Regions from separate parts of the Homo sapiens genome. Here regions 1, 3 and 4 are each linked to region 2. Evidence: promoter capture Hi-C in 16 types of primary human blood cells and fetal thymus (Javierre and others, 2016). All regions are on one chromosome and are shown on one strand. The core of a region is centred on a gene start or on the middle of the fragment in contact, and the rest is flanking DNA. Distances in the headings are between cores, read along the strand shown. Region 1 overlaps COL19A1 (collagen type XIX alpha 1 chain). Region 2 holds the start of LMBRD1 (LMBR1 domain containing 1). Region 3 overlaps COL19A1 (collagen type XIX alpha 1 chain). Region 4 overlaps COL19A1 (collagen type XIX alpha 1 chain).

What was found. Contacts are between HindIII fragments. The CHiCAGO score rates a contact against its expected background, and 5 or more counts as called.
Region 1: a fragment that was not itself captured here is called in contact with the fragment with the promoter of LMBRD1 in region 2 in 2 of 17 cell types (naive B cells and total B cells); the score reaches 7.5 in naive B cells.
Region 3: a contact is called between a fragment that was not itself captured here and the fragment with the promoter of LMBRD1 in region 2, in 2 of 17 cell types (total B cells and naive B cells). The highest score is 6.7, in total B cells.
Region 4: a fragment that was not itself captured here is called in contact with the fragment with the promoter of LMBRD1 in region 2 in 2 of 17 cell types (total B cells and naive B cells); the score reaches 10.4 in total B cells.

Annotation. Positions count from the first base shown.
Region 1 is chr6:69,941,795-69,949,251 of GRCh38, reverse strand. All of the region lies in intron 9 of COL19A1 (collagen type XIX alpha 1 chain), which reads right to left. Among named protein-coding and RNA genes, the nearest start is that of COL19A1, 79 kb to the right of the region's middle. The HindIII fragment of the contact is 877 bases long and covers 1,303-2,179 here.
Region 2 is chr6:69,791,897-69,799,170 of GRCh38, reverse strand. LMBRD1 (LMBR1 domain containing 1) reads left to right here and starts at 2,161. Exons shown (of 16, transcript NM_018368.4): 1 at 2,161-2,358. The coding sequence starts at 2,290. RefSeq lists enhancers at 2,240-2,469, 2,098-2,653, 2,780-2,829, 2,654-3,210. The HindIII fragment of the contact is 19,066 bases long and covers 1-7,274 here.
Region 3 is chr6:69,963,864-69,970,744 of GRCh38, reverse strand. The region is part of intron 11 of COL19A1 (collagen type XIX alpha 1 chain); the gene reads right to left. Among named protein-coding and RNA genes, the nearest start is that of COL19A1, 100 kb to the right of the region's middle. The HindIII fragment of the contact is 2,171 bases long and covers 190-2,360 here.
Region 4 is chr6:69,984,063-69,991,091 of GRCh38, reverse strand. The region is part of intron 11 of COL19A1 (collagen type XIX alpha 1 chain); the gene reads right to left. Among named protein-coding and RNA genes, the nearest start is that of COL19A1, 120 kb to the right of the region's middle. The HindIII fragment of the contact is 1,481 bases long and covers 1,621-3,101 here.

The DNA of each region.
Region 1 (7,457 bases), core at 492-2,991, 150 kb before region 2:
GGAAGGATATTAACCACTAAGTACGGTCTCTGATGATGTGTGAATCCGGGAACCAAGAGTTAAACGTAATCTGTTACCATATTTAGCACCACTGGAAGTTACATGAATTCTCTAACTGTCTGTGAGACCCTTTAAGAGTAACTCAAGTAAATTAGACCCAGAAGAAAACTGCTTGAGGAAACATGAAAGAGTATTTGCCAGGACAATTTTGCCATGGTTTTAGAACACCATAAAAACAGCTGCTTCTTTATGATATTAGCTTCTTAAGTTCTCTGGGAACAGTGTCTTCACACAGACACACTCATTAACTGATTTTGCAAGACTCTCTCAGTCACCATTTTGACCAAATGGGCACCAAGGGCTGAGGATTTTGGTTTTCAGAATGACTTCATCTAACTAGATTATCAGTATTTTCCTTTATATTCACTGAAGTTTTACTTTAAGTGAAATATAGGATGAATCACCACACAAGATTCTTTCTACAAAAGTGGACTTCTGGGAAAAGAAACAAAATTTTTAGTTCTGAGTAGTGCCTGTCTCTGAAATACTGACTTGCTCCAGTTCCTTCACGTTGCCCTAAATGCCCTCTCTTTTCTAAGAAACTCTCTCTTCTTCTAGAGAATTTCTTGGCTTGCATACTTAACTTTCTAGACTTGTTTTCTTACTATCATGGCCCTGGATGGCAATTCATTTGATCAGCTTTTGACAGGATTGATTCTACTGAATGCTTCATCTAGTCCTTATATTGTCAGTCTGTGGACATCACCTTTTCAGGAGTTGAGAACCTGTTCCACAACCAATAAGTAGCAGTTTGCACCTGGTTGTCATACATAAGGATCCAAGGGCTGTCATTTTGGAGTGTTAAAATTAATGCTATTTTATACCAACCTTGATAAATTCTGTTTTAAAGCATTCAAAGGGAATTCTATCCTGCTATGCCATAATTTATTGTGTAAATGTACGTAAGTCTCACGTTACATCCCACAATAAAGTCAAACAATCTATTTTATAGCTCAAGCGCTTCGGTGATTCTGCAAATGTTTTAAAAAAGATTCCCATGTTCAGAATAATTCAAAAACTCCTAATGATCTGAAATCTAAACAATCAGATTATTGTGATGCATTTTAGAAAAAGATTGGTAGAATAAGGGTACAAGGTAAATTTAGATTGGGGCATCTCTTTAGGTGATCAAGTAATATTCTCTAGAGAAAAGATATTTTTAAAGAATTAGAACTTTGAACAAGTATTTAAAGAAGCTTTTATTTATGATGAAGAATCGTCAATTAATGTCATCAGTAAGCTTATACAAGAAGATAGCAGCCCAAATAAACATCAACTTGCAGCAAGGTATTGTTTTTCAATAGAGTTTGTTGGACTTTACTGAGTTTAACAGTTACATTCCTATAGGAGTAAAGAATTTGCATATCAGACTGAATAATTTATGAAAGGAAAAAGTAGCATCAATGAAGCCATCAGATACCAGAGACACATTTATGAAGGTCTGAAAAAATATCTGTCTGAAAACCTCTGAACCTCCTACTGCTTCAGCTTCAGTTATTGCTGTGCTAACTTTAGGTGAATAAAACCACAATGGTCATGGCCTTCTAGATAATGACACAATGGACTCACTTGATAATCAGTGCAGCTAGAATGCCACAAAAACTTATACTAAGCATATTTTCATAAAGAAGAGAATTTTCTTAGCATCAACATATGAGAACTTTAAAAATTTAGCAAAGTTATTAATATTAATATAGGCATATATAGGGAAAAATACGACAAGGTGATTGCAGTTTAATATACAAATACAACAATTTTTTAAATATTCTACAAAAACTGAAGTTGAATAAGATGCTAAACTGCAACAGTAACTTCTCGTGAGTGAATTTATTGTTTGGAATCATCTTTGTGGTATTACAGGAAAAACATAAAAATCAATCATTTTATGAGCTATAGCCTACAGTATAGCATTTTATTGATACACTGAAATATATTTCTTATATTTTTAATTATAGTATGTCTTATAGTCTATATTATAAAATGTTTACATAAACTGCCTAATTTTTGTCTGCAGTGAAATACATATTAAGACACCATATTATATATAAAATGGTGAATTTGAGAAGCCCTGGGGCTAAAAGAATAGCAGCCAATGTTCCGGAGCAGGGATCAGCAAGCTTTTTCAACAAAGGGCCAGAGAGTAAATATTTTAGATTTTGTGGGCCATACAGTCTCTGCCACAATTACTTAACTTGGCCATGAAGCACAAAGGCAGCCTTAGGTAATACAAAAACAAATGAGTGTGGCTGTGTTCCAGTAAAACTTTATGTACAAAATCCTACAGTGAGAGTTTCTGGCAGCCCTACTATAGGGCCACAGTTTGATTACCTCTAAACTATAGGACTTGTTCTGTATATTTTCCTATCCTATCTGATACAGCTTTATAAAATAACCATAAATTTTGATCAAAGAGTAAACCATCATATCTTTTCCCCAGGAATTCCAGGAGCACCAAATTCACCTTTATTACCAACTGCACCCTAAAATACAGAAATGCTTATTAGGAGATTACTTTTAAGGGGTGCGTTAATTACTAATGTTGTCAAAGTGAATCTACCTCTTCCTAGATGAGTTGCTTTTGCTTGCACCAAAGTTTGTGCTTCAAGTTCCTTCCTCATATTGCCCACAAGCCAAAATAATAAATTGTAAAAAATCAGTAATTCGTAAATATCTAAGTGCTAATCATAACTAAAACTAGACATATTCACACAGAAATATGTAATTCAGCTTTGTAATTTACCAAATTTTGAGTAGTCTAATATGCTAATCCAGATATGATGGGTAAGTTTCCCCTCATTTTCTTTCCAATCTGACATTACTCATATGCCCATTCTGTAGCCATACCACAACAATAAAAATTAGTTAAACCAAAATATGTTCATAATTTTTAAAAATAAGGATACATTCTCTTAGTAATAACCTCACAGAAGTAGGATTTAATATTTACCAAAAGTACATTTACCAAATGTAAGGAATAATACTATTGCTGTTACTTCAATTAATATGATAAATGAGTTTAAATGAGTTAAAAGCTACATCCTATCCGATGCTTTCAATTCAAGTAGGTCAGGAAATTTCAGATTCTAAGATATTCCTATTTGTTTCATTTAGTATGCCTGACTTTCCTTTACATCCTCCAGGAAAAACCCCAAAGCTGGGTCAATCCAATGATCAGCTTCCTTGCTCTTCTGTCTAACTGCCAAGCAGGGATGGAAAAACAGGTGCAAGGAAGTCTATGGATCATCTATGGCTTCCTTAAAAGCACTATCACAAATTCAGTCTAATAAATTTATCCTCGAAACAGTGGAAAATAATATACACTTTTTGAATGAGTTTCTCTGTCACTAACACTTGGTAGAAATTAAGAAATATATTGTAATTTTATGAATATGTAATACCATTATTATAATGATACTATCTGTTAATTTCAGATGAAGACCCACAAGTAAATTTCACCTTCAAGTGAATTCCTGTAGATTACATGAGATTATATCAAATTGGGTAAAACTGATCCAAAAAAAGGACTTGTCAATTACTTCAATATATTCAATATGGGATTAGAAAGGATAAAGAAACATTATTATTTCTTATATTGACATATTAAAAGAAGTCAAAAGAATAATATTAAATCCTACTTCTGTAAAGTTATTACTAAGAGAAGGTATCCTTATTTTTAAAAATTATGAACGTATTTTGGTTTAATTAATTTTTATTGTTGTGGTATGGTTACAGAATGGGCATATGAGTAATGTCAGATTGGAAAGAAAATGAGGGGAAACTTACTCATCATCTCTGGGTTAGCATATTAGACTACTCAAAATGAAAACCTCTATAGTGGGATTGGAGGGCAGGAGAAGTTGAAATAAATCAATACCAGTTTCTGACTAAGAAGTCAAATAAGCTAACTTATTCCATTTTAAACAGTTTTGATTTTCTGTCAAAGCATATCAGCAAAGCAATCATTTCATAAAGTCAACACATTTTGGCAAATTAACTGGAGATATGGAAGATAATAATAGAAAAATAAACTGGAAAATTATTCCCAAAATGGAGCTCAGATAACACTTCCCCTCAGGTTCAAGAACATTAAAATTGAGCTAATATTTTATAAAACTCTGAGAGAATTTCAGCTCTGAAATGGGTGAGGGTATTAACAAGGGTCTTAAAGAACTGAGAAAGTAATGCAGTTGCTAAGGAATTAGGTTGCTAACTACATTTGCTAACAAAAGGGAATTAAAAAATTCAGAAAATTATTACAATTGAGTCTAAATGAAAGAAAAGTATTAATTATTACTTCAAATAATGTTATACAGAGTTTAGTGTTAAAGAGCATGGTTAAAATCGCTTGATTAGGTGTTCTGATATAGAATGCTGATCACAACTAGATAATTAAATACAAGCAGTAGTACTTAAAACTGCATTATTCCATGAGAGGTGACCATCACCTTTATAAAAAAAGAAAAAGTAGTAAATCATATTAATAAACCATCATAGTAGATAAGAAAATAGGCAAATAAAAATACATATTAAGTTTTGCCAAAACTTCTGGCTTTTTGCAAAATATTTTTGATGCTTCATTACCTAGACAATACTAAGCTAAACCTGATTAAATCAATGTGAAAAGAATTTTTGTTTTTTAAAAGAAAAAACTGTAGTAGAACAATAGTTAACAATATAATATTATTTAATTCTTTCCTTGCAAATTGAATCTTTGCCTTGCTCAGCAGAGTCTCCTGGGCAATTAGGAAGGAGAACTTACAGTTTCTAGAAATAGCTGAGTTGATTATTTAAACTTTCCTTGAGGTATAGTGTTCATTCATGCATTCAGCATATTTTTAGCTCCTATTATTTATGTGTTGTTCTATGTATAGGCTCACAGAACTCATTTTCCAACAGGGAAAGAAATAGATGCGTGATGACAATGTGTCAGGTGGCAGTAAAAGTGCTAAGCAAAGTAAGAGGATAGAGGTGGGAGTAAGGATGCTTTTTATATAGAGATGCCAGAAGGCCTTTTTATTTTAAAGTTATTTTTGAGCAAGGGCCTAAATGATGTGAAGAAGAGAGCGAGCCAAGTGGATGTGGACAAGGACACTTCAGGCATACATAACTGGTACAAAGGACTTGGAGCAAAAGTGAACAAGGGAAGAGGGTACGAGACAATCTGGGATTGAGGAGTCAGGTAGGGGAGAGCTCTACACATTATGTGAAGCCTCATAGCCCATGGTTAGAGCTTTGGGGTTTACCTTAAGAGAGACAAGAAGTCATTAGTGGGTTTTGGCTCAGGTGGGACAGGATTTGCTTACATGACTATTCGGAATAATTGTCTAACTCATAATGTATGTGTATAAATAAGAGTAACATTTTTCTCTATGAATTTGCTGCATTAAAGTAAGGATGCTCAAAGCATAACACCTTAGATTGTCATCAACAGTCACACAGACCAATGGAACACACTAGAGAACCCATAAATAAATCCATGTATTTACAACCAACTGATTTTTGACAGAGGTGCCAGGAACGTGCATTGAGGAAAGGACAGTCTTTTTGTTAAACAGTGTTGGAAAAACTATATTCAAAAGAATAAACTAGATCCTTATCTCTCACCATATGCAAAAATCAACCCAAAATGGATTGAAAACTTAAATGTAGAGCCCAAAACTATGAATCTTCTGGGGGAAAATGTATGGAAAATGCTTTGGTACATTAGTCTAGGCAAAGATTTTGTGGCTACAACCTCAAGAGCACAGGCAACCAAAGCAAAAATAGACAAATGGGACCATATTGCAATAAAAAGCTTTTGTACAGCAAAGGAAACCATCAAGAGAATGAAGAGACAACCTGCAGAATGGGAGTAAACGTTTGCAAGGTATTCATCTGACAAGGGATTAATATCCACAATATACAAGGAGCTCAAGCAACTCAACAGCAACAAACAAACAAAAACCCCAATAATCTGATTTTAAAATGGGTGAATGATCTGAATAGACACTTCTCAAAAGAAGACATACAAATGGCCAAGAAATACATCAAAAAATGCTCAACATTAATCATGAGGGAGGAGCAAATTGGAATCAAAATGAGATATCATCTTACCCTAGTTTAGAATGGCTATTATCTAAATGACCAAAAAAAATGCTACCAAAGTTGTGGAGAAAGGGGAACTTTTGCACCCTTTTAGTGGGAATGTAAATTAGTATAGCTATTATGGAGAACAGTATGGAAATGCCTCAAAAAACTAAAAATGGAACTACCATGTGATCCAGAAATCCCACTGGGGATATGTATCCAAAGGAAAGGAAATAAGTATGGTGAAAAGATAACTGAAAGCCTGTGTTTATTACAGCACTACTCACAATCGCTAATACATGGAATCAAAATGGGTGTCTATCAATTAATAAATGGATAAAGAAAATGTTTTATACACACACACACACACACACACACACACACATACACACAATGGAATGACATTAAGCCATAAAAAAGAGTAAAATCCCATCATTTGCAGCAACATGGACGAGTCAGAATGACATTGTTGTAAGTGAAATAAGCCAGGCACAGAAGGATAAATACTGCATGTTCTCCTTTATATGTAGAAGTTTAAAAAGTTAATCTCATAGAAGTAGAGAGTAGAATAATGGTTACTGGGGCTGGGAAGGGTGGGAGTGGGGATAGGGAGAAGTTGGTTAACAGATACAAAATTACAGCTATAAAGAATAAATAAGCTCTTCTGTTCAATAGCACTGTAGGGTGACTATGGTTAACAATAATTTATTGAATATTTTCAAATAGCTAAAAGAGAAAATCTTGAATGTTCCCAATACAAAGAAATAATGAATATTTGAGGTGATGGACATGTTAATTATCCCAATTTGATTAGTACAGATTGTATAAATGAATGAAAATATCACACTTTACTCCATAAATACGTATAATTGTTATGTCAATTAACATATTAATAAAAATCTTAACACCTTTAGAAATACTGTAATGTAGTGACATATAATTTGAAAGAGATGTGGAAGTTGTATTCTCAAATCTTTTCTCACTTTATTACATTGGGCCAAAAGTAAAATGCACCAAAAGACTAATATTATACAGTTAATGAGAAAAAGTAAGTTATAATTGTGTCTGGATGGCTTCTAATCGACATTATCTAAGTAAAACAATGCAAGGAACATATTTGAAAAACTAGCACATTGTGCTGAGAGCAGTGGCTCACACCTGTAATCCTAGCCCTTTGGGAGGCTGAGGTGGGTGGATGACCTGAGGTCAGGAGTTCGAGACCAGCCTGGTCAACATGGTGAAACCCCATCTCTACCAAAAAATACAAAAATTAGCCAGGCATGATGGCGGGTGCCTGTAATCTCAACTACTCAGGAGGCTGAGGCAGGAGA
Region 2 (7,274 bases), core at 912-3,411:
AGCTGTTGAAGTTCTACTCTTTTTATAGCCTCAGAGTCCTCTGGTGTTGACTGATAGTAAAGAGTGTGCCTGCAATAGCAAATACTTGGAACCAACTGAAATGTCCATCAGTGATAGACTGGATTAAGAAAATGTGGCACATATACACCATGGAATACTATGCAGCCATAAAAAAGGATGAGTTCATGTTCTTTGTAGGGACATGGATGAAGCTGGAAAACATCATTCTCAGCAAACTATTGCAAGGACAGAAAACCAAACACCACATGTTCTCACTCATAGGTGGGAATTGAACAATGAGAACACTTGGACACAGGAAGGGGAACATCACACACTGGGCCCTGTTGTAGGGTGGGGGAAAGTGGGGAGGGATAGCATTAGGAGATATACCTGATGTAAGACTAGTTAATGGGTGCAGCACCTCAACATGGCACATGTATGCATATGTAACAAATCTGCACGTTGTGCACATGTACCCTAGAACTTAAAGTATAATAATAATAATAATAATAATAATAATAATAATAAAAGAGTGTGCCTGGTTATGTCGTTATCTGGTTGGGTGCAGTCTCTATTGATTAGGTGAACATCTGGTCCCTTTTGGCATGATTCCTTTTGAAATGTAAACAGAATCTTTTTCTAAGAAGTAGTTACTTATGTCAAGGGTGCTCTATACAATCTGGAATAGAGATATCAACCTGGAAGCGATACCTCTCTTCACTTTAAGGAAGCTATGACAGAGGTCTCCAGGGATATGAATTATTAGGAAGAAAGAGTGAAATTCAAACATTTGCAGGTCTAGAGGGCTTAAAGCCAGCTTATGATGGTACCAGTTCAAGTTAAAACTGTATTCTCCCCTATTCCCTTCTTATTCTGTCCAGGCAGGAAGGACCATCCTATTTTTTCCCTCAGGCTTCCAGCCGGAAGTAGATTATAGGTAGAGCATAACTCATCACCACATAATACATTGGAAAAAGATGATGGTATTTTTTCTCAGAGTTGTTTCTTGACTACATCACAGTGGTGAAACATGCACTCACACCCCTGTGGACTCAGGTAAGCCATCCCAAGAGTTTCCTCCCTGTGGACTCAGGTAAGCCATCCCAAGAGTTTCCTCCTTCTTCTTCATTGTGGGCCTATGGCAGTGTGTTTTGTTTGCTGATGCATATACCTTTACATACAAAGCTATCATGGAAATTCACAGGCATGCATACATCTGAATAGAAAGGCTATAACATCATGTGATAAGTTCATGTCCAGCCAACCAGTTATCCCGGCTGGGCACCAGTGCCAGTAAATTAGAGTGATTTGGGCAGCTAGTCAACTTTTATTCAGAGTCAGCTGTCTCATGCGTCCGTGTGAAGAGACCACCAAACAGGCTTTGTGTGAGCAACATGGCTGTTTATTTCACATGGGTGCAGGCGGGCTGAGTCCGAAAAGAGAGTCGGCAAAGGGTGGTGGGATTATCATTGGTTCTTACAGTTTTTCGGATAGGAGGTGGAGTGAAGAGCAATGTTTTGGGGGTAGGGGGTAGATCTCACAAAGTACATTCTCAAGGGTGGGGAGAATTACAAAGAAACTTCTTAAGGGTGGGGGAGATTATAAAGAACATTGATCAGTTAGGGTGGGGCAGAAACAAATCACAATGGTGGAATGTCATCAGCTAAGCTATTTTCACTTCTGTGGATCTTCAGTTGCTTCAGGCCAGCTGGATGTATACGTGAAGGTCACTGGGGATATGATGGCTTAGCTTGGGCTCAGAGGCCTGACATCAGCCATTCTTGCAACCTGGTAAGGAGTTCTGCTAATCACACACATTCCACCTTGTACACGAGGGCCAAACTTCCTTTTGGTGAAGAAGTATAAACCTCTAAAATTGACTTGGATCTCCAGGTCCACCTAGCCCATTCTTTGTGGAGTTCCCTTGCTGTTCTAGTCTATCAACTTAGGCTGAGTCAAATATCTCAATAGGTTGCCCAGCTATGAGCCAACACCCTGCTCTGCAGCCCTCCCACATCTCAGCTTGCAGGGAAGCCAGCGAGGGCAGCGTGGTGATGTCACTGCGTCCGCACGCGCCCCGCCCCTGAGCAGTCCTTGCTGCCCCGCCCCCGCTCGGCTCGCCGCCAGGGGACGCTAGTGGGTCCAGTCTCCTTGGCAACCACTTGCTCCTCCCCCTCCGCCCCTTTAACCTTTAGGGTGCGCGGGTGCAGTATATCTCGCGCTCTCTCCCCTTTCCCCCTCCCCTTTCCCCACCCCGGGCGCTCAGGTTGGTCTGGACCGGAAGCGAAGATGGCGACTTCTGGCGCGGCCTCGGCGGAGCTGGTGATCGGCTGGTGCATATTCGGCCTCTTACTACTGGTAGGGGAGGCGCTTGGAGTTTTCCCCATGTTTGGACTGGGGGAGGAAGGGAGGGGCAGGCCCTGCAGTTGGCCTCTCCGGGCCCCGGAGACCCTCTTCGCCCCGCCCCGCTTTTAGCTTGGACTGTGGAGGGCTCCTTAGTGTTGGGGGCTTGGGCGGGCGGCGGGGGCAGGGGGGTGTCGATTTCCGGTCTCTTTTGCTGTCATTTCACCGATGACGTCTAGGGTTGCAGGGTCCTTTTTGGAAGCTCTTGCCGTCATCGCTGACTTGGGCAATGGGGCCGGTGGGGTTTGGGGGCGGAAGAGACCCTCGGGGTTGAGAAGTATGTGGTGGCCTTTCGTCCCCTGTAAAACATTGTCACACGGTGTGGGGCGGCAGCGCTGGATCTTTGCAAGTTAAGTAGGCGCTGGCGTTGTTTACTTGTCACCTTCTCTGTATGTTTTTTCCCTCATTTTCCCTACCCTTGGGGCTAGTGAGTCTCCAACCTCTGTGCCCATTGTGTGATTCTGCCTTGATGACGTGAGTTGCTCGTTCTGACTTCCAGGTGTCACATTCTCTTCTAATCTTTTTTTGATTGGTGTAGATACCTGTGGAGGGCGGAGCTGTAGCCCTCTTTATTACCAGTATCGGAGTATATACTACTACCTGTCTGACCTCAGGTGCTTTCTTTTCCAACGATCTTATTTCTGCATATTCAGTGAGCAAAGTGTAGATAGAAATGTCTCAGAGTGGCCTGGCTATTACTTCCCTGTTCATATTAAAACCCTTTGGTTTATTTGGGAGTTCAATTTATTTCCTTTCATAACTTCTCTACCTTCTCAAATCTTCTCTTTTCTCATCGTCCGAGGCTGTAGTTACTTTCTGTTCTCACGTATTTTGACCTTTTTGCATTGCAAAACAAAAACCTCCAGTTCTGGAAATCAGGCTTGTTTGGTTTTACTTTAATTGTCAGATCCAGTTGGTGTCTGGTACCTATGTAGTATGTTCTAGTAGATTTTTGCAGTAGAGACTAAAAAAAGAAAATAAAAGAAAAGAATGGTGTGAAAATTTAAGAAAAGGATCCTCTTGTTACTGCCATCACTGTCACAGATAAAAACACTGCCTTTACCCTGGAACATGTTAGTCCTCTCTTGGAGGAAATGAAACCCTAAAGGTTGACTGTGGTCTCTGCAGCCACCCAGTCCTGTATTTGGAGAGCCCCCTGGCTTTTCCAGTCCATCAGATTTAGTTTGTTTAGAAAAAAATAAATAAGCATGTAATGTATGAAAGTTACGTGAGACTATCTTGGCAGTTATAAATTAATAAACATTTACGGTACAGAAGTGGTGTGAATTGTAAGAGGATGTAAACCAAACAAAATACGGCTTTAAAGAGGGCCTGAAGATAAGTGAGAAAACTGAAATTCTTGAAACATGTATTTTATGGACCGAAAGCCAAAGTGTGACTATAAATAAAGCAGGACTTAAGAGAATAGACAACAATATTGGAAGAAAATGAGAATTGTGGTAGAGTTTGGATAGATGAAGAAGAGAGGCCATTTAAGTTGGCAATATTACAGCAAGGACAAATAAAATCAGAATTGAATGTTGTCGTGGATAAAAGCATTAGGAAGAAGGACTTTTGTTTAAATTTCTGCAAATCTCTTTAAATCCTGGTTTATTAGAAGAAAGGCTGGTTTCTTTTGTTGCCTTCTACATTCAGTCTTTTGGGGTATGTTATTTTAGTCGAAGTGTATGGAGAAAATACAGCTGCAATGATAGGTAGTCAGAAACAGAGGAGCGTTTTTCAGATAATTGTGGATGTTTTTTGACACTACACCAAAGCTCAACAAGTGGAAGATTCATGTCAGCTGCAAGGTGGAATCTGAAACCCTATCAATGAGCATTTCATTCATTGTTACATTAAAATCCATTAGCCCATCTTGCACTTTGAAAGGCTCTTTTACCCATGCATGGTTTTATAACATGATGCCATGGCCACTTAGAAAATGTTGGTTTACTGAGTTATGCACATCTTTTAAATATGGATACGTTTCATTACACAATATCAAAATATCACATTTCATTAAATTACAACTGATCTTGTCAGAAATGTCTCTGAAAATTCTAAGTATTGAAGAGTTGTCAAGCTCATACTTGTGGATGTAAGTCTTTCAAAATCCAATTTTCATTTGAAAGTTTGACTCATAATTATCATTGGTATCAAATACTGTCAGTTTTTCTTTAAGTGATAGATTCCCTTTGTTCATTTGACAAAATCTGCCAAAAAGCGAAGTCTGAATAACCAGTTTGACAATTGTTCTTTCAAGTAAAAATGGTGTTCCTTGAAGAGTGGTTGGTTTAGCTTTTAACTCTAAACTTTTCCTGGAGATAGCCATCACATCTTGGTATGCAGCAGGACTTTATGTACGCATGCTTCATATTTTACCCCACAAAGTATTAAAAAGAGTCAAGGGTTGAATTTCAATAAAATGAATTTATGCTGCTTTGTGAAGCACAGTCTTAATTTAAATTGTCCCTTTTTGAACTTGTGGTGAAGAATACAATGATTACTGGTGCAGTTTGGTGCCACTGTCTTGATTCACGCTAATGCACCAGTAGTTTTACCCACTGTGGCTATGAACCATGAGTGCAAATGTCAGCACAGTGAAAAAGGCAAATAGCATCTTAGTATTTATTATGAGAATAGTTTTCAACTTCTGAATCTCCAGAAAGGATTCTGGGGACTACCAGGGCCTAGGGATTTCACACTTGGAGAACTTCTGCCAATCATCTACTAAATATTCAGGACATGGGCCAGGTGTGGTGGCTCACACCTGTAATCCCAGCACTTTGGGAGGCTGAGGCAGGTGGATCAGTTGAGCTCAGGAGTTGAGACCAGCCTGGGCAGCATGGCAAAGCCCCATTCCTACTAAAAATACAAAAAATTAGCCGGGCGAGGTGGCAAATGCCTGAGGTTCCAGCTACTCAGAAGGCTGAGGTGGGAGGATTGCTTGAGCCCAGGAGGTGGTTTGTGGAGGCAGTTGCAGCAAGCTCTGATAGTGCCTGGGCAACAGAGGGAAACTTCGTCTCAAAAAAAAAAAAAAAAAAAAAAAGATTCAGGACATGAATGTTGCCTACTTTTGTGATCGTGGGCAAAAAGAATGGACTTCAGTTTCTTCACACATAAGGAATTGTTAGATTTGGTATCTCATGCCTGTAATCTAACTATGTCTGTCTTTACTATATCAAATCTAAACTGTTCTATCTAGCTTCAATGTCCTCTGTAATTTGGCTCACACCACCTTTAAATTGTATTTGCCATTACAATAGGAGACTCTCCATTTTTGTAAAGCAAATTTATTCTTGTTCCTTAAAGTGTGGGCATCATCTGGGAACTTGTTAGAAATACCAAATATGTGACCCCAGTCCTACTGAATCAGATCTGCAGTTTAACAAGATCCCATACAGTATGTCATCTATTCTCATTAGTTTAATGAAGATTCATCTCTTCTCATTCCTTCTTCTGCCCCAGTGGTTTGCAAACTTGACCTTTCATCAGAACCACCTGGGGAGTTTTAAAAATCTCAGTGTTCAGACCAATTTATTTTGAATCTTTTGGGAGAAGCTGGGGGGACTATTTGAAACTTTTCTTTATAATTGTTAACAGAGTTATATATTTGTTTCTTTTATCAAATTATCTAATAACTACTACTGTTTGTTAAGCAGTTACTATGGCCAGCCACTATGGTAAACCCTTTATATCTCATTTAATCCTTATAACTTGTTATGAAAGAAGTATTCCTATAGACGAGGATACTTGGTTTTATTTTATATTGTAGTAATGATTGATAACATGAACAAAAAGCTCTTTAAGGTTATCAGTTTTAAAACCATTATAAAGGGATTCTGAGACCAAAAAGTTTGGGAATCTCTGGCTTAACTCTTCTGCCTGGTTGCCGTTTCCTAGCTTGTCTGCCTGATATTGGCAAAATCCTTTGTTTGCAGTAATACCTACAAAATGCAGGTTTTCTTTCATTCTTGAAATCCAATAAAAAATTTATTGGAACACTTTGTGTCAAGTACTGCTGAGGATATAAAGATGAGACTCAGCTTTCAAAGACTTCAGAATGAATTTGGGGAATGTTAAAAATATTTATGAATTCCTTTAAAAACAAGCTCATTCAAATATTAATACAAAGTCACATTTTATGAAAAATAAATTTCCCAAAATCAAGAATTTGAGCCTAGATCCTTTTTGTTTGTTTGTTCCAAAGTCTTAACTCCCTTCTCAGTCAATTCTTTCCTGCTATTCTGTCACCAGTTGAAAGGCCAGCAGTATGAAGCAATGACATGCAGCAACTTGGATGGGTTTTAAATGCACTGTGCCAAATGACACTAGCCAGACTGAAAAGACAACATACTATATGAAGGCATTATGATATTCTAGAAAAGGCAGAAACTATAGGGGCAGAAAACAGATAGTGGTTGTCAGGGTGATACTGGTGGGCTGAGGGAGATCCCCAAACACTGGTGGGATCTCAACCCCAGCTGGTTTTCAGGCTCTTGACACTGTCATGAGAAGACATTAAAGGGCAAGTCAGAAAATAGTGTAAGTGTGGAGATTTATTAAAGGGAAAAGTACACACTCGTGTGGGCATTCTTAAGAGAGAGACACACGGTGAGGTTTGGAGTTTCTACCTTTATGGGTTTCTTTATCCAAGGGACATATTCATGAAAATTCCTGGAAAAAAGTAGAGACTTCTTGAAATTGTGGTGCCACCCATTTTTACATCAAATATGAGTGGTCTTGGAACTGCCATGGTGCTGGTAGGTGTGTGATTGAGCATGTTAATGAGCATATAATGAGGTCCTAGGTGAAACCTAGGTCAAATCCATTGCCATGTTGGGTCCAGTGGGTCTTAACCAGCTTGGTCC
Region 3 (6,881 bases), core at 26-2,525, 170 kb before region 2:
GGAAACAATTGTATAACACGCTGATGTTCAGTAGAACTCTGCAAGGTGAACCAAGACAGAATTCACGGGAAGTAAGGTAACATGTAGACAGTTGCTTTAGAGTGATGAAGGGAAAGTGCTATATTTATAATAGCAGTATTTAACATACTTGCATTAGTTTTAAATAATAGGCATAATCACCAAGAAGCTTTAATCATGAAATCCTAAAAAAAAATTTCAACTTTGACTTGTTTTTTCCATTTATTCTTGTATCAGTTTTAGTTTAGATAAAGTTAATAAGTACATTTTGCTATGTAAAAGTACAAAACCATTCCTTGGTTTAATTATTTGATATATTGTGTTTCTTTTTTCCCATTCTAATTAAGATTTTTAAAATAATATTTTCCTATTACATATAAAGTATTTCTACCATTTCAAATTCAAAATATGTTTTGACACAGTCTGCAAGTCCCACTATATAAACCTAACTTTAAGAATTATATTTTAGGCCATGGGAGAAGGAAAAAAATGAAGTAAAGTTGATAAATCTGTTTAATCTTTCTACTCTACTGTTAATTTAAAATAAAATTTTATATCATTTGTGTTAGATTTATTATAAAATGGCCCCTTTTTTCACCTCTCCATATATTTACACCCTAGGCAATGTGTCCGTGCAGCTTCTCTCATCAGGAGGTGGAATCTATTTTCCTACTCCTTGAATCTAGGCTGGGTTTGAGACTGGCTTTGGCCAGTAGAACATGGTGGTGATGGAGGTGGGGGCAAGCTAGTTCTGAGCAAGGAGGCTAAAGAGGCTTTATATGCTTCTGCTTCCTCTTTTTGGATCCCTGCCTTCACCTTGAGGACAAGTCCAGGATAACTGTTGGAAGATGAGAGATCATCTGGAGTGGAGACATGTTGTCTAGCAGAGGCCAAACTAGCCCAGCCACCCTCAGCCAACCTGGCAACTGAGAAGAGATACACACTCTTGCCCCAGAATCTGCTGGGGATTGGTTCCAGGATCCCTGCTGATAACAAAGTCCATGGATGCTCAAGTCCCTTATAAAAAAGGAAGTAGTATTTGCATATATCCTCCCATATACTTTAAATAATCTCTAGTTTACTTATAATACCTAACACAATGTAAATGCTATGTAAATAGTTGTTAGATTATATTGTTTTTTATTTGTATTATTTGTTATTGTTGTATTGTTATTTTTAATTTTTATTTCTCAATATTTATTTTTGATTCATGGTTGGGTGAATCCACAGATGCATAGTCCCTGGATGCACAACCTGCCGATAACACAGGCGAATTGTATGAATGAACGTAGATAAGATCAACTAAGACAAAAAAAAATCACTGAGCTAAGCCTAGTGTAAATTTCTAAACCATATAATCACAAGCTAAATAAATGAACGTTTTAAGTCACTACGTTTTGGGGTGATTTGTCACATATCAGTAGCTAACTACTATAGCCTCCTGTCTTTTATTTACTTATTCACAAGAAAAATTAGGAATTAATATTACACAAATAAAGATATATAATAATTCTGTCAAATAAATTTTTGTCAAAATATTAAGATTTTATATTACTTTTGTATATTGGCTGCTGAGGATATTAACATTTATTGAACATCTTTTATTCACCGGCACTCATTTAATTCCTGCAGTCATTCTGTGAGGTAGTAATTAACTTTATTTTATAAAAGAGGAAACTATGATAAAGAAAGCTAGGAACATATCCAAGTTCACACAGCTGCCATTACAGAGCTGGACTGGAACACAGAACACAAAAATATGTGAATCCATTTATTTTACGATATGTCACCATCACTTTCAAAATAAACATCAAGTCTAGGCTCTTTCAGGAGTGGTACTCCAGAAACTAAGAATGTTGATTCCTTGTTGAGTGATCTAGATGCTGCCCCAGAATGTCCTGAATAATCGTTTACGTATATTATATAAACATCCTTATTTGGGCTTTTTCTCACTCAATACCAAATTTTAAGTGGCCCAAAGTCACAACCACTCATTCAAATTCTCATGTCCTGCATGTAATTACCATAACAACTGAATGAGAAATTGACAAAAGTAAAAAGATTTTTCAGGGTAAAAATCCTCATTTATTTAAAGCCATAACTGTTGTTTCTAGTAGCAAATGATCACTATTGATTTTCTGAGTTACTATAATTTCATGACATTTAATGCTAGAAGTCAATATTTTAGAAAGTTGCTTGCAGGTGACATTATTTATTTGTGGTACTAGTATAAAAATAGTCTGATTATCTAATTTCTGCTGTTACAAGTTAAATATAAAAGTTAAATCTATCTATCTGAAATAAATGAACAAAATGCTACCAAATAAATTATCCAACAAGCTTATGAGCCTAGGACTATATGAGACATATCATAATTGCTGATATATTTTTAATGCTGAAAACAAAAAAGCAACAGAATAACAAGAATGAATTCACTGCTGCTATTTTTAATATTCATTTGATAAGAAAACAATATCAATGATTAACCTATGAAATAGATAAGTGAAGACATTTTCTATTAAGCATTTTCCATTCCCCCATCACATCTTCAAAAGTAACCACTGAAGGCAAAAGGTGGCATATAAAATTAGTGCTAATAAAATCAATACTAATACAATCAGCACCAAGCCTAAATATATTCTATTTTAGGCTGGCTTACAAAAATTTGAATTATGTCATCTGAAAATTAGCTGATGTTGACTGGTGATAAAAGAAATACAAATGTTTTGATGCATGACTTTATTATAAATAACCCCAGATAGTTTGTGGGTAGCAAAGTGTACTTTACGCTACGTGTACTTTACGCTACGTTATAGTAGACATTTAAATAATTGTATTCATTTGAATATTATATTTTGTACGGAATTTTATAACAATATAGAGTTCAATAAATCAACTAAGAATACGGGTCTGTGGAATGTTTTTCCAGTGGATTCTGTCTGGTAAAAAATATTTGCAACCACTATAAAACCAGAGTAATAAATATTTAAACACAGTTTTCTAATTTAAATACATATCTCATATGGCATTTTAGGACCTAGATTATATTTTGGTAAGAAGAAGACAATAAAAAAAATCACAAGTCACTGGAAATTTACAACTAGTTTTCCAACAATGGTTTTAAGAGATGAGTTAAAGCAGGGACCATATGAACTTGTTAGTTTTGTGTTTGCATTTATTGTTATTAGTATAACCCAGAATGGAAGAAAAGATCAGCAATAAAGATTATCAAAGTAGATAATGCCCAGAAGCCTAAACAAGAGAAAGCAAGAACTTGCTCAACCATGGACTCTCACAGCTGCAGAATATGCCACATGTTTGATGCTCTCCACCTCTCCTTCAGTCTTATGATTCACGAAGAAGTGCTCATTTGATTGTTTTTTTCTTTTTATCAAACTTAAGAGGCCCTCAAGAGACCAGAAAACTTTCATTTCCCAAATGGAAAATTTCCACACCAGCAGAAGCATCTTAGATCCAGGTAAGAATCTGCCACCATATATGCCCAAGTTAAACATCACTATTCAGTGAACCAAGTCGACTACATTTTAGGTAATAAATCAAGAAAAGTAAGGTATAAGTAGCAGTTGCCACTGGATGTTTCTCACAATCAAATGATATTTAGCAATAGGTTCTGCAGTTAAGTTTAACTTTGAGAAAATTAGTTCTCAAACTTCAAGTTAGAACTTGAGTGACAACATAAAATAATCATCATTTTAAAAGCAAACTAAATTACATGATTTGAAGCAATTACTTAAAAATATTGAATGGTATAATGAGGCAGATGTTTACATTTCATTGTCTATTTGCTGTTTCTTTTCATAAATGTAACCAAGTAATATTTCTACCTTCACAAGGACATAAAGTAAAAACTTGAGCTCAGGGTTAAGGAGTGAAGAGCACGTGAATGAATCCTTGCTAAATGGCCTTTTTCTTTTTTTTTTTTTTAATTTTTTTAGTATTTATTGATCATTCTTGGGTGTTTCTCAGAGAGGGGGATTTGGCGGGGTCATAGGACAATAGTGGAGGGAAGGTCAGCAGATAAACATGTGAACAAAGGTCTCTGGTTTTCCTAGGCAGAGGGCCCTGCTGCCTTCCACAGTGTTTGTGTCCCTGGGTACTTGAGATTAGGGAGTGGTGATGACTCTTAACGAGCATGCTGCCTTCAAGCATCTGTTTAACAAAGCACATCTTGCACCGCCCTTAATCCATTTAACCCTTAGTGGACACAGCACATGTTTCAGAGAGCACGGGGTTGGGGGTAAGGTTATAATTAACAGCATCCCAAGGCAGAAGAATTTTTCTTAGTACAGAACAAAATGGAGTCTCCTATGTCTACTTCTTTCTACACAGACACAGCAACAATCTGATCTCTCTTTCTTTTCCCCACATTTCCCCCTTTTCTATTTCACAAAACCGCCATCGTCATCATGGCCCGTTCTCAATGAGCTGTTGGGTACACCTCCCAGACGGGGTGGCGGCCGGGCAGAGGGGCTCCTCACTTCCCAGACGGGGCGGCCGGGCAGAGGTGCCCCCCACCTCCCGCACGGGGCAGCTGGCCGGGCGGGGGCTGCCCCCCACCTCCCGGACGGCTTCTAATGTAATGTAAGAGCTTAGTTCATGCATTTACATTTGGTTACATAACAAGAGTTTGATGAAATCATTGCTGGGAAGGCTGACAGATAGTATGGGGATAACTGTTATCTGAGGATTGAACTCCGTATTTTGTTTGTAGTAGCAGCCTGCACTATAATAATAGTACTGAAGGAATCTAAGGAAAATCCCCAGAAGACTACTCCTATATAGAGAGAGAAGCCAAAATACAACTCTCAGCTGTGGAGAGGGTCCTTCATCCCTCCTGCCTCATGAGCTATGCTGTTGGAGAGCCCAAGGATCCTTGGGTGATACACACCTAACTTTGCCAGCTAGGGATGGTGAAGTGGGATGGGGTCATTCCTATAGGTCTACATGATAAACCACAGCATGGTAAACCTGCAAATAGCTGTCATCTGAGAGAGTCATGTCAGCACCAACAACCTTTCTGAGAGAACTTACTACCCCTTAAAATAACTTTCACTTCAGGACTAATTTGGCTGAATTGTGTTTGTTCAGGAATGTATGAGGCTCTGCCCTGTTGTTACAAGTTTCTATAGATTCAGAAATATACTTTAAATGAGGTCCTTTATACTTGTTCTAGTGCCACAGGTTTTTCTCAGGACTAAGGAGAGAGTGTTCAACTCTTTGAGGAGCTACTTTGTCAGTCTAGTGAGTTCGGTTGGCCTGAAAGCTAGTTTTTTTTAGCCATAATGGGAAGAAGCAGATTACTCCAGTTGGTTTCCACTGCATTATAGAAATGTCACCTGAAAATATCAGGTAGTATTTTACCTTTTGCAGTTGATGTAATTTTTATATTTTGACCGTAACTATGTGTTTCTGGAAGATATGACATCTCTGACCAATAACAATGTCCTGAATTGTATTTTGCAACTGGTGACTTGTCACTCAAACAGTCAAATTAAACACAGTAAAGGCCACAGTAGGGTAATTAAAGAAGAAAGTGGGTTTTTAAAAAATGATTATATACTCAGTTTTCCACAAAAAATTAAAGTCCAAGGTAGATTGACTTTGTTCAGAAAATAAATTATGTTGTGAGTAATCCATGCTGTTGTCACACCAATGTGAATGTTTCATAGACTTTTCTTGTTTAATCTAGAAATAAAGTGAACTACAAGACCTCAATTATTTATCTCATGAAAAAATACATGTGGTTCTGGGTCAGAATATGTAGCATGCTAACATTGAAAAAACTCAAAAATTTAATATACAGTAAATAATAAAGCAGAACATCATTTTTACTTGGTTGGTGTAATGTAATTACTTTTGCACCAATCAAAGTAACATAACGGTTATTACATGAATCTTATATCTGACTATAAATCATCTAAATTGGGATTCTCATTCAAGGTACATATTGTCTTTTCTGTTTGATGCTTTATTTTTTTCTAATATATTTAAATCATTCTACAAACATATTTCTACCTTGTGGTGAAATTGACTATTTGAATGCAACAGTTAATAGATATGTGGAACCACAAGGAAAATCCTTGAAGCCAAATACGGTGAATGGTTTTCTAATGCCTTATAACCTGTGAGAATCTATTTATTATTGAGCTATACCAGCTATGTATATAAACTATCAAAACAACTACTAAGACTTTAGTGTATTGGTGACTTTAAATTACAGAGAATATATCTGTTCAGGCTTATTCACTACTTATTCCTACAGGTAAAATCCCACTTAATAAATCAGGAATATGTATAAATAAAGCATTTATTTAAAGACATGGCCTTCCAAATGGCTGTTATTCTAAAGCAAAAATGTTCAAGGGATTTCTAAGAAAAGATATTCACCTTAAAAATAGTCATCATTTAATGAAATGATCTCCAAAAGTATGGTTATTATAAGGCCATTCTTTTTTCTTTCTGAGTTCTGTGAGGAAAAGTAATTATCATGTAGTTTGTAACATGTGTACTTTGTCTTATAATTATAATAGATGCTCATTCTCTCTATAAATACTTATTGAAAAAGCAAACAACTGATCACTGGCAAGAAAGCAAAATACAGGCAAGACTGTCCAATTTGAGATTATTCTCCTTTCTAGCTCTCCTGGCCATCCAATTCCATACATACATTTGATGTACACAAGAGTTATTAAACAAAAGAATGGTACTGTTTTTGTTTTATTTAAAAACAAAACAAGAATTTTGAAATGAAAAAGGATTCAAATGATTATCTGAAGGAAAATTTTGGATGACCAAGCATTCTATTCTCTGTACTTTCAATAGAAAGTTGTAAATTTGTAAAA
Region 4 (7,029 bases), core at 1,112-3,611, 190 kb before region 2:
CAAAAAAGGGAATAACAGACACCAAGGTCTACTTGAGGATAGAGAGTGGGAGGAGGATCAGAATAACAAAACTATCTATCAGGTATTAGGCTGATTACCTGGGTCACAAAATAATCTGTACACCAAACCCCTGTGACACACAATTTACTCATGTAACAAACCTGCCATGTACCCCCCAAACCTAAAATAGAAGTCAGAAAAAGGAAGAAAAAGTTAAAATTGAATAAATCCTTTTAAGAAATCACCATTTTGTGACCCTGAATGAATTAATTGGCCTAGATATTGATGATCAATGGCTGCAATCATCACAAAAAGAAAGATTTTCAGACATTATGTGGCTCTTGGCACACACCACCATACAATTTATGAAGTAGTCTTGCTAAAAACATCACACCTAAACTGATCTAACCACCCTTTAAAGGAAACACAGAGGAGAGAGGAACATATTAAAGTACACCATGAAACTGCAGTTGGCAAATCCAGGCTATGGAAGATTCTTCAGGACAAACAACCCCGATTCTTTAACAAATAATGTAATAAAACAAACAAAATGACAGAGAGGGGGAGGAAAATTATAGATCAAGAGACCATCAAAAGCACAGCAACCAACTAGAATGTGCCTATCTTATTTGGATCCTGACTACAGCAAATTGTTAACGAAAATTATGATTTTATGATACTATTGGAAATTTGAACACCAAATGACTACTTAATGATATTAAAAAGTTATGTTTAAAAATTTTAAGTGTTATAATGAAATAATGATTATGTAAAAACAAAAGCCTTATCATTTACAGATACAGACTGAACTGTTAATAGCTGAAACATATGCTGACTGGGATTGCCTCAAAATAATACAAGATGGAGTCTAAGTGAAACAAGATTGGCTGTGAATTGAAGACAGCTGAAGTATATACAGGTGTTCAATATTTTATTCTGCACACTTTTGTGTTTATTTGAAATTGTCCATACTAACAATTTTTTATTATGCCTAGGACCAGAGTCTTTATAAGTGGGTACTTCACATGCTCACAAATAAAGAGATACATCATTTGTACACATTCATTATTAAGCTTTTTGATATGCAATGAGAATTTTCTTAACAAGATAAAGCTCTAGAAATGAAGGCAAAAATTACTCATTCACAATTGAAGTCTAGCATTTATATAAGATCTTATAGACATGAAACATTAGTCTAAGAGCTTTAACTCATTTACCTCATCATAGCACTAGGGATTAGGTACTACTACTCTGCTTTAGAGATGAGGAAACTAAAGTAGAGGAAGGTAAAGTATTTTGACATAGTAAAGTGGGAGAGCCAGGGTTTGAACCTAGACCATTCTGTTCTAGAAATTGGCTCTTAAATTTTAGTCTAATTCTGTGGCTATTGAGCAAGTTTCCATGTTTTAGGTAGGATCTAGATCAGTGGTGTCCAATCTTTTGCCTTCCCTGGGCCACATTGGAAGAAGAATTATCTTGGGCCACACATAAAATACACTAACACTAACAATAGCTGATGAGCAAAAAAAAAAAAAAAAGTAAAAAACTCTCATTATGTTAGTTTACGAATTTGTGTTGAGTCACATTCAAAGCTGTTCTAGGCCGTGGTTGGGACAAGCTTGATCTACATCAAAAGAAATAGAGGGACGTTATTCTAGAACAAGGGAAAAGTAAAAGAAAAGGCACAAATATATGGATTAGCAAGTTACTTGCTTTAGGTAAAGCACAGGATTCCGAAAAAGGAAAATTCTATGAAACTAAATTGGAAAGGCAGGCAGAATCAGGTTGTAGAAACCACGAAGGGCAAGTTAGGGATGTCTGGACATGCTCTTTTAGCCATTGAGGAGGCACTGACTCTTTTTGAGTAGAACCCCGGCATTGTACTTTTTGGAGAGTAATGGAGCTAGTTATGTAGGAAAAAATTAGTGGGTAAAAAACTTAGCGGTATGTAATTTACTTAGAAACCTATTCCAACAATCTAGGCAAAGGCAAGGAAAGCCAGAACTTAGGGAAATGCCATGGGGCTGAAAAAGAAGGGCGGCTATGAGAAATGAGATGTGACAGGAAAAGAGGGGAGAAGCAAGAGTTCATAAAAATTACAGGTTTCAGACCTGTGCAAAGCCCAGAAGGATGGTGATGTTATCAGCACAAATAGAAAAGAGCAAATGCAGGAAGAAAAGCAGATGTGAAAGGAAAGCAGAAGGGTTTTGTTTTGAACATGCTGAACCAAAGGAATAAATGGGACATCCAGGAGGAGATGTCTAACAGGTAGTTGGGTAAAGTAGACCAGACTCCAGGAAAGATATCAGGTTTAGGTTATAGATTTAGGAACCATCCTCTTGAGAGATGATGATTGAACTGATAAGACAAGTTGAGACTGCTGAGGGAGGAGGGGAAGAGGTTTGTTTTGAATCTCCAACGGTATTATCAGTCTCTTAACACGTGGGTGTTGTTTTCTAGTTCCTTTTTATTCCACCAGAGCATCTAGCACAGAACTCAGTAAACTTTCTTGTCTGATACATGGAAAGGTATAAGAGGTGCTAGAAGTCTTTTCATAAGCAGTAGTGATTTCCCAAATGATTCCGGTATAGCATTTATTTATCAGTAGCAACGATCATTTGTTTTATTAATTTCTCATCTGGGAACTAATAAGGAAAAGCCAACTATTAAAAGCCCACATATGGTGGAGGGCAGAAGACCCTTTTCAGATACTTCATGCAAAATCCTAAGCACTAAGCACACTAAGTAATGCTTATCTTTTGGCCTATATTACTTTAATAATGGTGGTGCTGTAATTCACTATGGAATTTATAGTCAAATCTAGTGAATATGAGGAGTACAGGAAATGACATGTAACCTTTTCACTGCCTTTGGTGTAGTAAACCACTGATGAGGCTGCAGTTAGAGAATGAACATATAAGAATGGGGAAAGAAAATGGTAATAATGCTGCACTTTTGCATATTTAAGTCATTTCGAATCTGGTGTTTAAAACTTCTTTAAAAAACAAAATAAAGATCTGTTTCTTACAGCAGGGTCAATAGTGAACCATTTTTGAGTCTTTTCCAGAACCTGTATGAGTCAGAGTATTTGGTTTAAAGCTTTAAGGGTCCAAATAATTATCTTTCTTACATGCTGTACTCAGTTTATTCCTCCCATGTCAGAACTAGATGTTCATACTTAATTCTAAACTTTTCACATTTCCCTTTTACTGTAACCCTGGGTTGAGAAAGCCCACTACTTGAGTAAATTTTCTAGGCAATTTTCTGGTATTAAGAACTCCATTCCATTAGGGGCTCTCTCCAGGAGAAGGAAGAATGTTAGGAGGCTCCCAAGTAAGCATGGCAGGGAATCCTTACCAACAATCAAGAACCAACCCCACAAGGCAGTTAAGCACAGCTGGGAGGTATTTTGTTAGATTCAAGTCCTAGAAGCCAGTGAAAGAAAGAGCTGTGATACAAACGGTGGTGCTTATGTCTTTCACATTTGGAAAATTTCACAAGCACATAAGGACCTCTAGCCGATTCTATATGTTAAAAACACAGTGTTGTTTGTGAAACCAAGCAATCGTTTTAAGGACTTTCAAGTCTCTAGTGTGAGATTTGTTTCAAATTTATTTCAGCTATCAGAGTTGATCCTTCTCAGTAGCCAATGATGAATTTTCCTTCAGTATAGCCGTATGTCTGGGTCAAGAATAAGTCTAATTTTCACTGAGTCAAGAGGATAATGTTTGCACTTGTAAAATGAGAAAACAGGAAAAACAAATTTAGACATAGAGTTATTAGTAAATAATAAAATTCCATTTTTTATAATTCCACTTTGAGGAAGACTGTAGGATAAATGAACATGACAGAAGGATTTTATTTTGCTGTGTTTTGTTTTGTGTTGGTGTAGCTAGTGATGTGCTGCAGATAAGAGTCAGTTATCATTGCTGAATATCCATAGGCCTTGAGTGGACACCTTTGGGATGATGCCTCTTGATTTTGAACAACAACAAAAAAAGATTTTTAAGGAATATCAAAAGTCATGCCTGTAGTCCCAGCTACTCGGGAGGCTGAGGTGGGAGGATCTCTTGAGCCCAAGAGGTCAAGGCTGCAGTGAGCTGTGTTTTCTCTGCTGCACTCCAGCCCGGGTGACAGAGTGAGACTGTCTCAAACAACACAACACAACACAACACAAAATGAAACAAAATACAAAAAGTATCCAAAATCTTAGAAATAGAATTTCTAATGGGCAATTGCACTCAAATATCTTATTAATGCATTTTCCAATTGCAGCTACAAAGTTAGAGCTCCATGTCTCAGTCTTAGAGCCAGAAAGCTCAGTGGCTTTCTAAATAAGACCAAGTTGGGCACTGGAGACCAGAACTGGTTTCAAAATAAGCATTACTTGAAGAAAGTTTAAGGAATTGTAGTATAAACTCTGCGGTCAAAGTATATATGCCCAGAAGTTCGTTCTAGATAGGGCTTCACATATTTAGTACATTATGTGTATAGGTTTGCACATTAAAATAACTGCTCTCAAACTTTAGTTGTTATGCAACCATCTCTAAGAGAGTTTATTAAAATGCAAATTCCCAAGGCACATGCCTAGACTTCTGATCCAGGGGATCAGGAATGAGGCTCAGAAACAGGCATTTTAAGCACCCACGAGATTGTGATGTAGGTGGTTTTTCAGATCACGTTATGAGAAACACTGGACATAATTTATACCCAATGCTTCTCATTGAAGTATATCCATTGGTAACTAACAATCAATAACCTCAGCTTAAACTGAAACATATAATCCCTCACATTTCTGACTTATAAAAGGAGGATTAATATATATATATGTGTGTGTGTATATATATATATATATATATATATATATATAAAACGTGTAAGTCATTTAACATTTTACTGGCAGCTATTATTTTAATTGACACTTTTCTATGTATGTTATTTGAAACTAAAAACAATGTAATTAGCGGCAAAATTTGCTTTCTTCCTGACTTTGTAGACTGTCTTACTGAAAAAGAAAGAGTTCTTTATTTTCATTTTTCATGACTAAGCAAGACAAACATATTCAAATTCTAGGTTACTGAAGCAAGCTCCTTAAGTAGAATATGACATGAAGAATATATGTTTTAACAAGGCCCTGAACTGTATTTTCCAAAGACCCTAATGGGCCCACTAGACTTGTTATAATCTATTAAGTTCAATTTATGTAGGTGGAAAGTCCTTAAATATGCATTTTATGATAATATGCCTTTTAAGATGTCCCCTGATATATATTACACACACTACTAGACTATAATGGCTATTAACTCAGTAAAATTAATAATATGCATTTTTAAATGCCCTAAACTTTCAAAGACTCTCAGGAGAGACATTTCTGAGCAAAGTTTTGAAATAAGGAAAATTTTCACAGTTTTTTAGACAAAGAAATAGAAGTTTAAGGAATTTTTGAAAACGTTCAGTAATGGTGAAGGAAACTTAGGTTCCAGGGTCCTGGCTGTTTGCATATATACTCAGCTACTTTTTTTTTCAGAAGTCCTATCTTCTTATTAGCATGTCTCTACTTTCCACTCTTGATACTCATTTTAAAGTGGTCCTAATTTTCCTGATTAAGCTATCTCTTCAATAGACCTGACTGAAAAGTCTCTGAGTCATCTCTCATCCTTCACCCCCTTTGCTAATGTTGCTGAACTCGCCACTGGACCATAGACCTCTGGATGGCAGTAAGGGTGTTTCTCTTCTGAGGAATGAGTAAAGAAATGATGATGCTGCTTTCATGTTTGGCATTAGTCATTTTCAACTGATTCTCTTAAAGTCTCTTCCTCTGAAAGTTAGTACCTCACTACTTAAACAAATGGAATTATTCAGTTAAAGATTCCAAAACCATCCCACACAACAAAACTCATATTGAATGCCATTTTTAACCTTGTACTATTAAAATTTCAATAGTGAGGAATTCAGTTTCAAGTTTTATCTTACCCAAGGAAACAATTCTTCCCTTAAAAGACATGTTTTGAGGTGTACTTTGTATTCTGATCCCAACTACAAGTGGGTAGGGAGACATTTTGAACCTACCCAAATTAAACCTAATGTTTTTTCTTCAAATGTTACCAGTTCTTAAATGCAGCTCTTAAATTACACATTTGGTTATTACATTTGCATTAATTATTTCTTTAAAATGAAGAAAATTATCAATCTCCTATGGAAATAGGTTTTAGGCTGGCTAATCTCAGATAACTCCCGAGCAACATTCAAACACTCAATGATAGAAGACTAATGGCTAAAATGTCCCCAAGGAAACAAATAATCTTTCAAGAACTATAAACACAGCTAAATTGTCATTAAAGTATAAAGTGAAAGCAAAGTTTGGGGGACTTCCATGTCCTTCGCATATATATTTCTCATTAACTTTTTGTGAAAAAACTAGGAGGCAAACATCAGCCAACCAAGAGAATGATACAGAAACTTCAGGCAAAAGATTGACAATGAACATAGGTTTCATTTAGCTACAAGACTAAAAATAAGATAAAAATTAGGGCTTGCGACTTAAGAACAGGATGTAAATATTATGAATACCAAAAAATGCTAAAATTATATATCTGACAAAAATTAGAAGGAAGGAGAGGAAAGAGGGTGGCAATAATGGGTAGTTTAAGTCCATTATCTTTTGTAGTGAGGTGTTAAAAGATTGTCTTTAAAATCAACTTAAGTTGCCTTTAAAACCAAAATACGTAACAAAGATAAGCATATTAACAATACCAAGGTAAAACTAAAAATATGTCATTCATTGACATCAGAGAGTGGCAGGGATGGAAGAAGTGGAAATATGTTAATTCAGCCATTCTAGGGAAGGAAATCAATAGACACTGACTGCAGAAATAGAAACTTCACTATATTTTATGTAGTTCTCCTTATAACCACTGGAGCAAAAATTTCAAATTTTCAGGAGAAACATAAACAAAGCAATCAAAATAAATAATTAAACCCATAATGTAAAAATCTTTCACAAAGAAACCTTCAGACCCTGTGGCTTTT